Regions from separate parts of the Homo sapiens genome. Here region 1 is linked to region 2. The links are contacts of gene promoters, found by promoter capture Hi-C in human tissues and cell types (Jung and others, 2019). All regions are on one chromosome and are shown on one strand. Each heading gives the region's core, a stretch centred on a gene start or on the middle of the fragment in contact. The rest is flanking DNA. Distances are from core to core; before and after follow the strand shown. Region 1 overlaps PLAC9 (placenta associated 9). Region 2 holds the start of PPIF (peptidylprolyl isomerase F).

Region 1 (4,432 bases), core at 233-2,732, 800 kb before region 2:
GGGGCTTGCTCTCTAAGGCTCCTTCTTTTTTGGCACTTAGTCACAGATTTGGATGAAGCGCCTGTAGAATACCTTCTCCCTTTTGGACTTTGCAGCCTGGAGCTCACATTCCTTTTGTTGTTCCGCCCCCTGGTGGTATCTCTGCCAAATGACAGGTTTGGGATTCTGAAATTTACTGAGTTCTTAATGGTTTTTCCCTGTGTATGCCATGGACCCCATTGGCAGTGTGGTGAAGCCTACAGACCTCTTCTCAGAATAATGCCTTAAATGCAAAAAATAAAACATATAGAATTACTAAGGGCACCAATTGCATTAAAATATTATTCAAGTATTAGGCCGGGCGTGGTGGCTCACGCCTGTAATCCCAGCACTTTGGGAGGCCAAGGGGGGCAGATCATCGGAGGTCAGGAGTTCAAGATCAGCCTAGCCAACGTGGCGAAACCCTGTCTCTACTAAAAATACAAAAAGAAGCCGGGCATGGTGGTGCGCGTCTGTAGTCTCAGCTACTCGGGAGGCTGAGGCAAGAGAATCACTTGAACCGGGAGGTGGAGGTTGCAGTGAGCCGAGATCACACCATTGCACTCCAGCCTGGGTGACAGAGTGAGACTCTGCCTCAAAAAAAAAAAAAAAAAAAAAAAAAATTCAAGTATTTAAAATTAAACTTTTTGGCCCAGCATGGTGGCTCACGCCTGTAATCCCAGCACTTTGGGAGGTTGAGGCGAGATCACTTGAGGTCAGGAGTTTGAGACTAGCCTGGCCAACATGGTGAAACCCCATCTCTACCAGAGGTACAAAAAATTAGCCGGGCATGGTAAGTACAAAAAATTAGCTGGGCATGGTGGTGCATGCCTGTAGTCCCAGCTACTCGGGAGGTTGAGGCATGAGAATCACTGGAACCTGGGAGGCAGAGGTTGCAGTGAGCCAAGATTGTACCATGGGCTCCAGCCTGGGTGACAGGGCAAGACTCTGTCAAAAAAAAATTTAAATTTTTGATGTAATATATGTATTGGCCGGGCACAGTGGCTCATGCCTGTAATCCCAGCACCTTGGGAGGCCGAGGTGGGCAGATGGCTTGAGCTCAGGAGTTCGAGACCAGCCTGGGCAACATAGCAAAACCTTGCCTCTACAAAATAAATACAGAAATTAGCTAGGCATGGTGGCACATGTGTCTGTAGTCTCAGCTACTTGGGAGACTGAGGTGGGAGGATTGCTTGAGCCTGGGAGGTGGAAGTTGCAGTGAGCCGAGACTGCACCACGGCACTCCAGCCTGGTAGACAGACAGAGACCCTGCCTCAAAAAAAATAAAATGTATTTATTAACTCACTAAATCACATGATTTAACATCAGGCCTAATAACAACTGAAATTTTGACATAAGGAAGGATAAAAATTATATGTTGAGATATTCATAACTAGAAGATGAAATTATCTGGATTTCTATTGATGACAAAGTTATAGTACTGTTAATACCACGGCTCGCTGTTTGTATTTATGATGAATGAGAATGCTCAATTTCAGTTAAAGGCTTGTGACAATAAAGATGTAAACTTTTCCCCACACAAGTTAGGAATCGTGGCTATATAACAAAACAGTGACTGAATTTCCACCTTCCCATCCAGTAATGATGTTGAAATATCCGGGTGGGGGTAAGCAAGGCCTTAGGGGAGGCAGGGTCCACTGGGGGCTGGGCAGCCCGGCAGCCTAGATGGGAGGGTGATGTTGGACGAGGTGGCCACAGGGCAGGATCGGCCCGGATGTCCTCACATTCCAAAGCAAGCTTGCATCTGCCCATAAAAACACCATCCTAGAAGGTGGTCCTGAACTCGCATGTCCTTCCAAACCACCCTGTTACCTCCTCCATGACATCTAGACGGCGTTGCACAGCCATGTGTCTGTCACACGCTGTGCTCTGAGCTGAGTCTCCTCGCGGAGGGCTGAAGGGTTCGGCAGCTGTGGGAAAACAAGTCTTGTCACTGTGGGACCCTTAGTTTTCCATAATGCCAGAGACTCCTGTAAACACTGGGCTCAAATGAGGTCAGTCCTCAAAGCAAACTCAGGAGCAAGCGGAGGACGGCCCAGGTGGGGGTCAGTGTGCGAGTGTCAGCCATCTCAATCCCACCAGTCTCTACAGCCACAGTCACCTACAGACCCAGATGAACTTCCTCAAGGAGGTGAAGCCCAGGGAGGAAGGGAGGATGGGCTTCAGCCAGGCAGAATGGCACCTGCAACAATGGAGAGGTCTGAAAGAGCAGGGCTCACTGTGCAAAACCTGCAGGGAGCCCGCGGTGGCTGGAGATACAGGGTGGGCGGGAGAGAGAGACTGGAGAGGGAAGTCCTGGAAATGAAGCCAAGGGGGCAGAGCTTTAACCCAGGGGCTTTAATAAACCAGTTCTGATGCTTGTTTGTTTTTTTGTGTGTTTGTTTGTTTGTTTTGAGATGGAGTCTCGCTCTGTCGCCCAGGCTGGAGTGCAATGGTGCGATCTCAGCTCACTCCAACCTCCGCCTCCTGGGTTCAAGCGATTCTCCTGCCTCAGCCTCCTGAGTAGCTGGGATTACAAGCACCTGCCACCACGCCCTGCTAATTTTTGTATTTTTAGCAGAGACAGGGTTTCACCATGTTGGTCAGCCTGGTCTCAAACTCCTGACCTCAGGTGATCCACCCGCCTCAGCCTTCCAAAGTGCTGGGATTACAGGTGTAAGCCACCAAGCCAGGCCAAGGGGGGTTATTTTAACAGAAAAGTCACAGAGCCAAACATGAATTTTTTAAATATAGGGAATAGATTGGAGGGAGATGCCTTTGAAGGCAGGAGGTTACTGCAGCAATCAGGATAAGAGGGGTGAAGGAGAAGTGATGAGCAGAGGCAGGAGCTGTAGGAATAGTGAGGAAGAAAATGAAAGGAGATATTTCAGTAGCAGCGTTGACACTGGGAACCCGTTAGTAACAGCTGGCATGTGATGAGTGCTTACCATGCACCATGTAGGGTGCTAACTTAACCTCTCCAACAACCTGTTGTTATGCCCAATCTACACGTAGGAAAACTGATGCACAGAAGGGTGAAAGGATGTGTCCAAAGTCACTACTCATAAGCAGAGGACTCATGAGGCCAAGAAGAGGGCCAATAAATTGGGAGAAATGGGGGCTGAAGAGGCTGGAGGTCTTAGGAATCACAGGAGGAACAAGAGGTAAAGAATATTGCAATTTTAGCCAGGCATGGTGGCTCACACCTGTAATCCCAGCACTTTGGGAGGGCGAGGTAGGCGCACGAGGTCAGGAGATTGAGACCATCCTGGCTAACATGGTGAAACCCCTCTCAACTCTTGATTCACCATTGTTCTCCTTGAGTTAGCTCTTCCAGGCACCATCAACCCTCAGAGCAGAAGTCTCAGAGCCCTGATGCCGAGCTTGGGTTTCAGAGTTGGTAACCCTGAGATGCCTGTGGGGCATCAGGGTTGGCTGGAACCTTGGAGAACGCTGACACTCAGGAAGGAGGGTGCTGCCCCAGAAGTCAAGAGAAGCCAAGAGCTTTACAGATTCTGCAGAGGATGAAAAGCGTCAGCAGGGCCGAAAGCAGCGGAGAGGTCTAGCAAGATAAGGACTGGAAAGAGAGCACAGAAAGGCCCTGCTAAATTTCACCCCAGCACTTTTAGGAGTGGTGGAAAAGCAGAGTTTGGATTACCATGAGATGAGGAGGGAAGGTGAGGTTGGGGGTGGAAACTTGGATTCTGGAAAATTTCACGAAGCTTGGCTGTGAAGGAAGGGAGATTGGATCGCAAGGTCTAGAGGAGTATTTATGGTTGTCATTTTTTTTTTTAAAGCATTGGAAAACACAATCATGCTTACAGCCTGAGGGACAGGAGGAAGACAGGAGAACCCAAGGATGAACTTCCTGAACTGATGGGAGGCCCTGGATCCAGAGGGGGTGGGACCACATCTCGAAGGAAGACAGAGGGAATGCAGCAAAAATGGGCAAAGGCAAACCATCTAACTAGAGGGCCAAAAAGTGGAGTGAGCTCCCACCTGATGGCCTCTATTTACTCTGTGCAGTAAGATGGAGATCACGTAGGGAGGAGAGCTAGATGTTAAAATTACAAGAATTCTATGAGTAGGTTGCTAAACACAGACATTAAAATAGTGACCATGGTGTCTGGAAATGGTAGCTCGTGCCTGTAATCCTAGCACTTTGGGAGGCCGAGTGGGAGGGTCGCTTGAGGCCAGGAGTTCAAGACCAGCCTGATCAACATAGTGAGACCCCATTTCTAAAAAGAAAAAAAATTTTAAGTTAAAAAAAAAATGGTGGCCATGATGAGAACATTTACACCACGGAAATCAACGACCCCCCTCCCCACTTTTTTTTGAGAGCCAGTCCATCAGTGCACCACTAGGTAAGGGACTTGAATAAAGAGAGGGCTTCAAAAGGGGATGTGCAGAATGA
Region 2 (4,393 bases), core at 1,301-3,800:
ATCTCCCAACCCAGCTCTCTCTTGATAGACTCCACCTCCCAGTCCCCCGGGCAGGGCCTGCCACTGACCTGGAGTGGCAGCGGGTTGGGGCTGGGCTTCCATGTGCAGTGAAGCCTGGATACAGGGCTAATGCAGGGAGGGCAGCCTGGCTGACAGAGCAACTGCAGCTGCTCTGCTCAGCACCTTCCTCATACCAGGCATCTTCACACACCCACAAGGCAGCTCCTGCTCTCATCCCCCCTTACAGAAGAGGAAACTACATTACCTGGCACATGAAGGAAGGGATCACCCTGTGGAAGGTGGAGCCTTTGTAGCCGAAGCCCTTCTCACCAGTGCACAGGGCTCTGAAGTTCTCTGAGGGTCGAAGAGAAACACAGGTCAACAGGGCCAGGCCCCAATTCCAGGGTCATACCCGTTCCAGCCAAAATCCCTGCTACATCCCCAGCAGTGAACAGGGGGATAAAGACTCTGGCCCACCTCTTGGGTCTGCTCTGCCCAACTCGCTATGTAACTGGACAAGTCACTCCCCTTCCCTGTCCTCAGTACCTGAGCACTGTGACAAGAGTACAGGCTCATGGCTGTGCTGGCCAGCAGGGCACGGACTCAAGGGCTGTGTGCCCATCACCCTGCCTCACTGGGCACCAGGAGTGGGGAAGTCTCCGGGAAATTTACATGTGCCTTCCACTGGCTCTGAGGCTCCCAGCTACTATGAGAGAGGAGGGCAGAGCCAACGTTGAGGCCCAGAGAGGGATGGCAGGGCTGCCCCAGAGCACCCAATGGCTGAGCCACACATGGAGCTCCCATCTGTCAGGGGTCTCTGAGCCCCGACTCTTCTCATCACGCCACCCACCTTGCCCTGCCTGGCCCCCTTCCCTCTAGACCCATCTCAGAAGGCCCCAGGCCCTGTCTTACCAGCTGTCTTTGGGACGACATCTGCCTTCAGCTGTTGGGGGAGAAGAAGGACAAAAGAGGATGGTCATTGGAGAGGCAGGTGAAGGTGGGTGTCTCTCAGCACCCACCCACCCCCACAGTGGCCAAGGAGGCTAAGGAAGAAGCACGTGGACATTCCATTCCCATTATTGCCAACCCCCATGGGAGGCAGCTCTATCATTTCTGGGAGCCGTTTCCTGAACCCAAGGCTGGAGGAGGTGGCCTTGGTTTCCTAATCTGTCAGAAGAGATGACAATGCTATCTTGGCCTACTTCTGTGGACACAGCTGGCAGTGCTCCCACAGCTGGGCCCAAAGCATCAGAAATTCAGGGACAAGAGAGTGTGTCTAAGGTAGAAGCCAGACCAGCTCCTCCATTCGGGGTTGGGAAACTGAGGCCCAGGGAGAGGCATGAGGGTGTGGGGAGGGAAGGCTGAAGCCCCATCCCAGCCAGCCTCTACCCTCGAAGCTGCAAGACCCACCCTGGAACCAAATGGAAGCAGGAAGGGTGTCCCTATTTTCCAGAAGAAACTGAGAATGAAGAAGAAATACTAAGGGCTCCCTGGGATACGGGCCAGTCAACACAAACAGACCCCTGCTGTCAATGTGTGGCCGACCTGAAGGCTCCACTAGGGCTTTCCCTCTAAAGCTACCCTGGTGACTGTTTCTTACTTTGCTTTAGAAAAGACCCAAAAACAGAGTTAGGGGAGGTGCTCAGTGTGGCCCCCAAGGACAGTGGCAGGGGTTGAGGCGCCGGGCACACTGTCTCTGAGTGTGTCCCGACTCGCAGGAGGGGCATTCTGGGGTCCACCAGGTGGCCGGGGCCTGAGGCCTACTGGGCCCGCACTACTGCTGGAAACCACCTCTCGCTCCATTTCCCAGCACCCCCAGTGTGAGCCCGACCGCAGGGGCGGGGCCGGAGCCAGGAAGCGCTCCGTGTTGTGCAAGGGCCGCCACGTGAGCACCCGCTGGGCCACGACGCTCACCCCAAGACCCCCGACACCCACCTCGGAGCTCCGGATCTAGGCTCAGCCCCAGAAGGCTCCTGGAGCCCCTCCCTCGTGCCCGGGCCGGCCCAGAGGTGCTGAGCCCTCCCTCTCTGCGATCTGACCTTGAGCTTTCTCCTCCACACGTGCCCTCCCTCCCGTCTCCCCCGCTCCAGTGCTCCGAGGGAGGCCGGAAGAAATCATTCTGACGCCCATTCTCAGAAATGGGGAAACTGAGGCCCAGAGCTCGGCATGGGGAGGCCCAAGGTCACCCAGCGCGCCCGGCACCGCGCCGCCCGGGGCCCAGGGCTCTCCCCGGGCCCGTGTCCCGCGCCCAGGCCGGCCCTGCGAGCGGTCTCACCTCCAGCACCACGCGGCCGAGCGGCTTCCCGTTGGCGTCCACGTCCAGGTACACGAGCGGGTTCCCGGAGGAGGAGGAAGAGGACGGGTCGCCGGAGCCCTTGCTGCAGGCGCGGGCCGCGGGGAGGCGCAGCGGCACGGAGCGCGGGACGGAGAGCAGGCCGAGCCAGCGGGAGCCGCAGCGCAGCGCCAGCATCGCGGGCGCGGGTCGGGCGGGACACGGGCGGGGAGAACACAGAACTCAAACTGACGTCGCGCGCGCCCAGAAGGCCGAGTCCCGCGCAGCCGCGCGCCGCAGCCTTTATTGGCTTGCCCAGGTTCCCGGCCCTGCCCCCGTCCCGCCTCCTCCAGGCCTGTCCGTGGACTACCCCTGCCGGCCGCAGCGGGCAGCGCAGCCAGCCGGTGGGGCCGCGGAGCGTGAAGTGCTTTGAAACACTCCCGCCTCCAGGCCCAGAGACCCGGAGAACAGACACCTGGCAAAAGGTTGCTGGTTCCATGTTTATTAAGGTACCAGCAGATTTTTTTAAAAAAAGAAAAACTGCTAAAACGTAATTAATTCCAAAATATGAGCATCTATACGTTGCAATTTGAATATAATAGCAAAAGTCTACCTTTGAGCCCTTTGCAGGTAAGGCTCAGGCCAAATAAGCTTCCCTGCTGCCCTAGGTCCTGCAGTCTGAGAGGGTTAGAGAAAGGTGAGATGAGAGGCGGGATTAGTGAGCTAGAGGCGCAAGAGGGAGGAGATAAGCTGAGACACCTCCCATGATGCCCCCTAGCCTGCTTGTCCCGGCCTGGGCCTGTCTCTAGTTGTTTCTGGGGACCAGACCTGCTTCTAGCAAGACTGAAAACGCAGCCTGGGCTCATCATGCTCCTTTCAGGCCCCCAGCCCTCCCCAGGACTGGGTCTGATCCCTCCTCCTAGGACCCACACTGACAGCCCCGGGGCAGACTGCCAGCTGCCCCCTCCCATCAGCATGCACCCTGGGAGGGGACTCAGTGGGGAGACCCACAGCAGGAGCATTTAAACCCCACGTGCTGAAAGTGGGCTTCCCAGCAGCCAGAGCCACCCTCACTGCAAGGTGGTGGGAGGTCTGCAATAAATGGATGCCACGCAGGGACCTGAGAGAGCATCTGGCCCAACACTTGTACTGTCCCCAGGGGAAGCTGAGGCCTGGACACAGGAAGGCACTGGCTAGGGCTAGGGAGCCCTGGAGTATTGCTACCAGCTTGCACCAGTGCTCCAGGCCTCTCTGGGCCTCAGTTTCCCATCTGGAGGGTAAGGGTGCGATCATGCTCCTCATCCTGCTTTTTTCTCGTGTCTGTTCTTAGGATAAAATGAACGAGAGAGACATGGATTTGTCAACTAAGTACTGTGCCTGTGGGCATCTGTGATGGACAGAGTCTGGACTGTCTTTCTCACAGTTTGGGATTCAGAGAGCTGCGGTCTCAGTTAGAGGCCTGAGGGGTCAGAGAAAGGGGTGGGGCTGAGCCTTGGAGGCAGGTGGGCAGGAGTAGGGACCAGCTCTGGACTGACCTGCCCCAGATCCTGAATGGGCTCATGGGAACAGGTCAGGCAGCAAAATGCCAGCCAAGCAAATTCATGAGGTCAGAGCAGTGCCCTAGCTTCATAAGAATGCTAGCTTGGCCTCTGGAAGTTTGGCTAGCTTGGCTTCTGGAAGTTCATAGCCCCCTTCTCCGATTCCTGGCCTAGGAGGGGCCTAGGCACCCAGTGAAGCCCAGGTGGGATGCATTCCAGGTCCCAGCCCAGAATGGGGCCTCACTCTGCCCTGGGGAGCAGCCCCTCCTTTCTTATGATTGTGCCCTGAGGTGAGCAGGCCTGAGTGGGGAGCCCACTTGAGCCCTCAGCACATGTCCCAGACCTTCCTCTACCAGTGCATCCTGTGGATTTGAGAGTGGAGGAATCACGCCATGTGCCTTGTCATGAAGCTTCCTTAAGGCCCCAGGCTTCCCTGCGGCCAGTTCCAGGCCCTGAGCTCACAGGACCTTCAGCCACAGCAGGTAGCTCAGCGTACCCTGTTGTTTCTCAAGCCTGCTCCTGGGGGGACTCAGTTTATGCCCCATCCTGATGAAGCATGAGCATCCCCACCCCAGGGGAGTGC

Evidence for each region. Contacts are between HindIII fragments. The study calls those that stand out against the background at their distance.
Region 1: a contact is called between a fragment that was not itself captured here and the fragment with the promoter of PPIF in region 2, in 1 of the 25 tissues and cell types used here (bladder).

What each region holds. Positions count from the first base shown.
Region 1 is chr10:80,139,599-80,144,030 of GRCh38, reverse strand. It overlaps PLAC9 (placenta associated 9), which reads right to left. Exons shown (of 4, transcript NM_001012973.3): 2 at 1,852-1,949. Among named protein-coding and RNA genes, the nearest start is that of PLAC9, 9.1 kb to the right of the region's middle. The HindIII fragment of the contact is 7,716 bases long and covers 1-4,432 here.
Region 2 is chr10:79,345,626-79,350,018 of GRCh38, reverse strand. PPIF (peptidylprolyl isomerase F) reads right to left here and starts at 2,550. Exons shown (of 6, transcript NM_005729.4): 1 at 2,276-2,550; 2 at 913-943; 3 at 266-354. The coding sequence starts at 2,470. RefSeq lists an enhancer at 302-802, cis regulatory regions at 1,569-2,069, 1,752-2,252, 1,781-2,281, 2,284-2,806, 2,274-2,806 and 5 more and silencers at 2,117-2,346, 2,367-2,776. The HindIII fragment of the contact is 10,018 bases long and covers 1-3,572 here.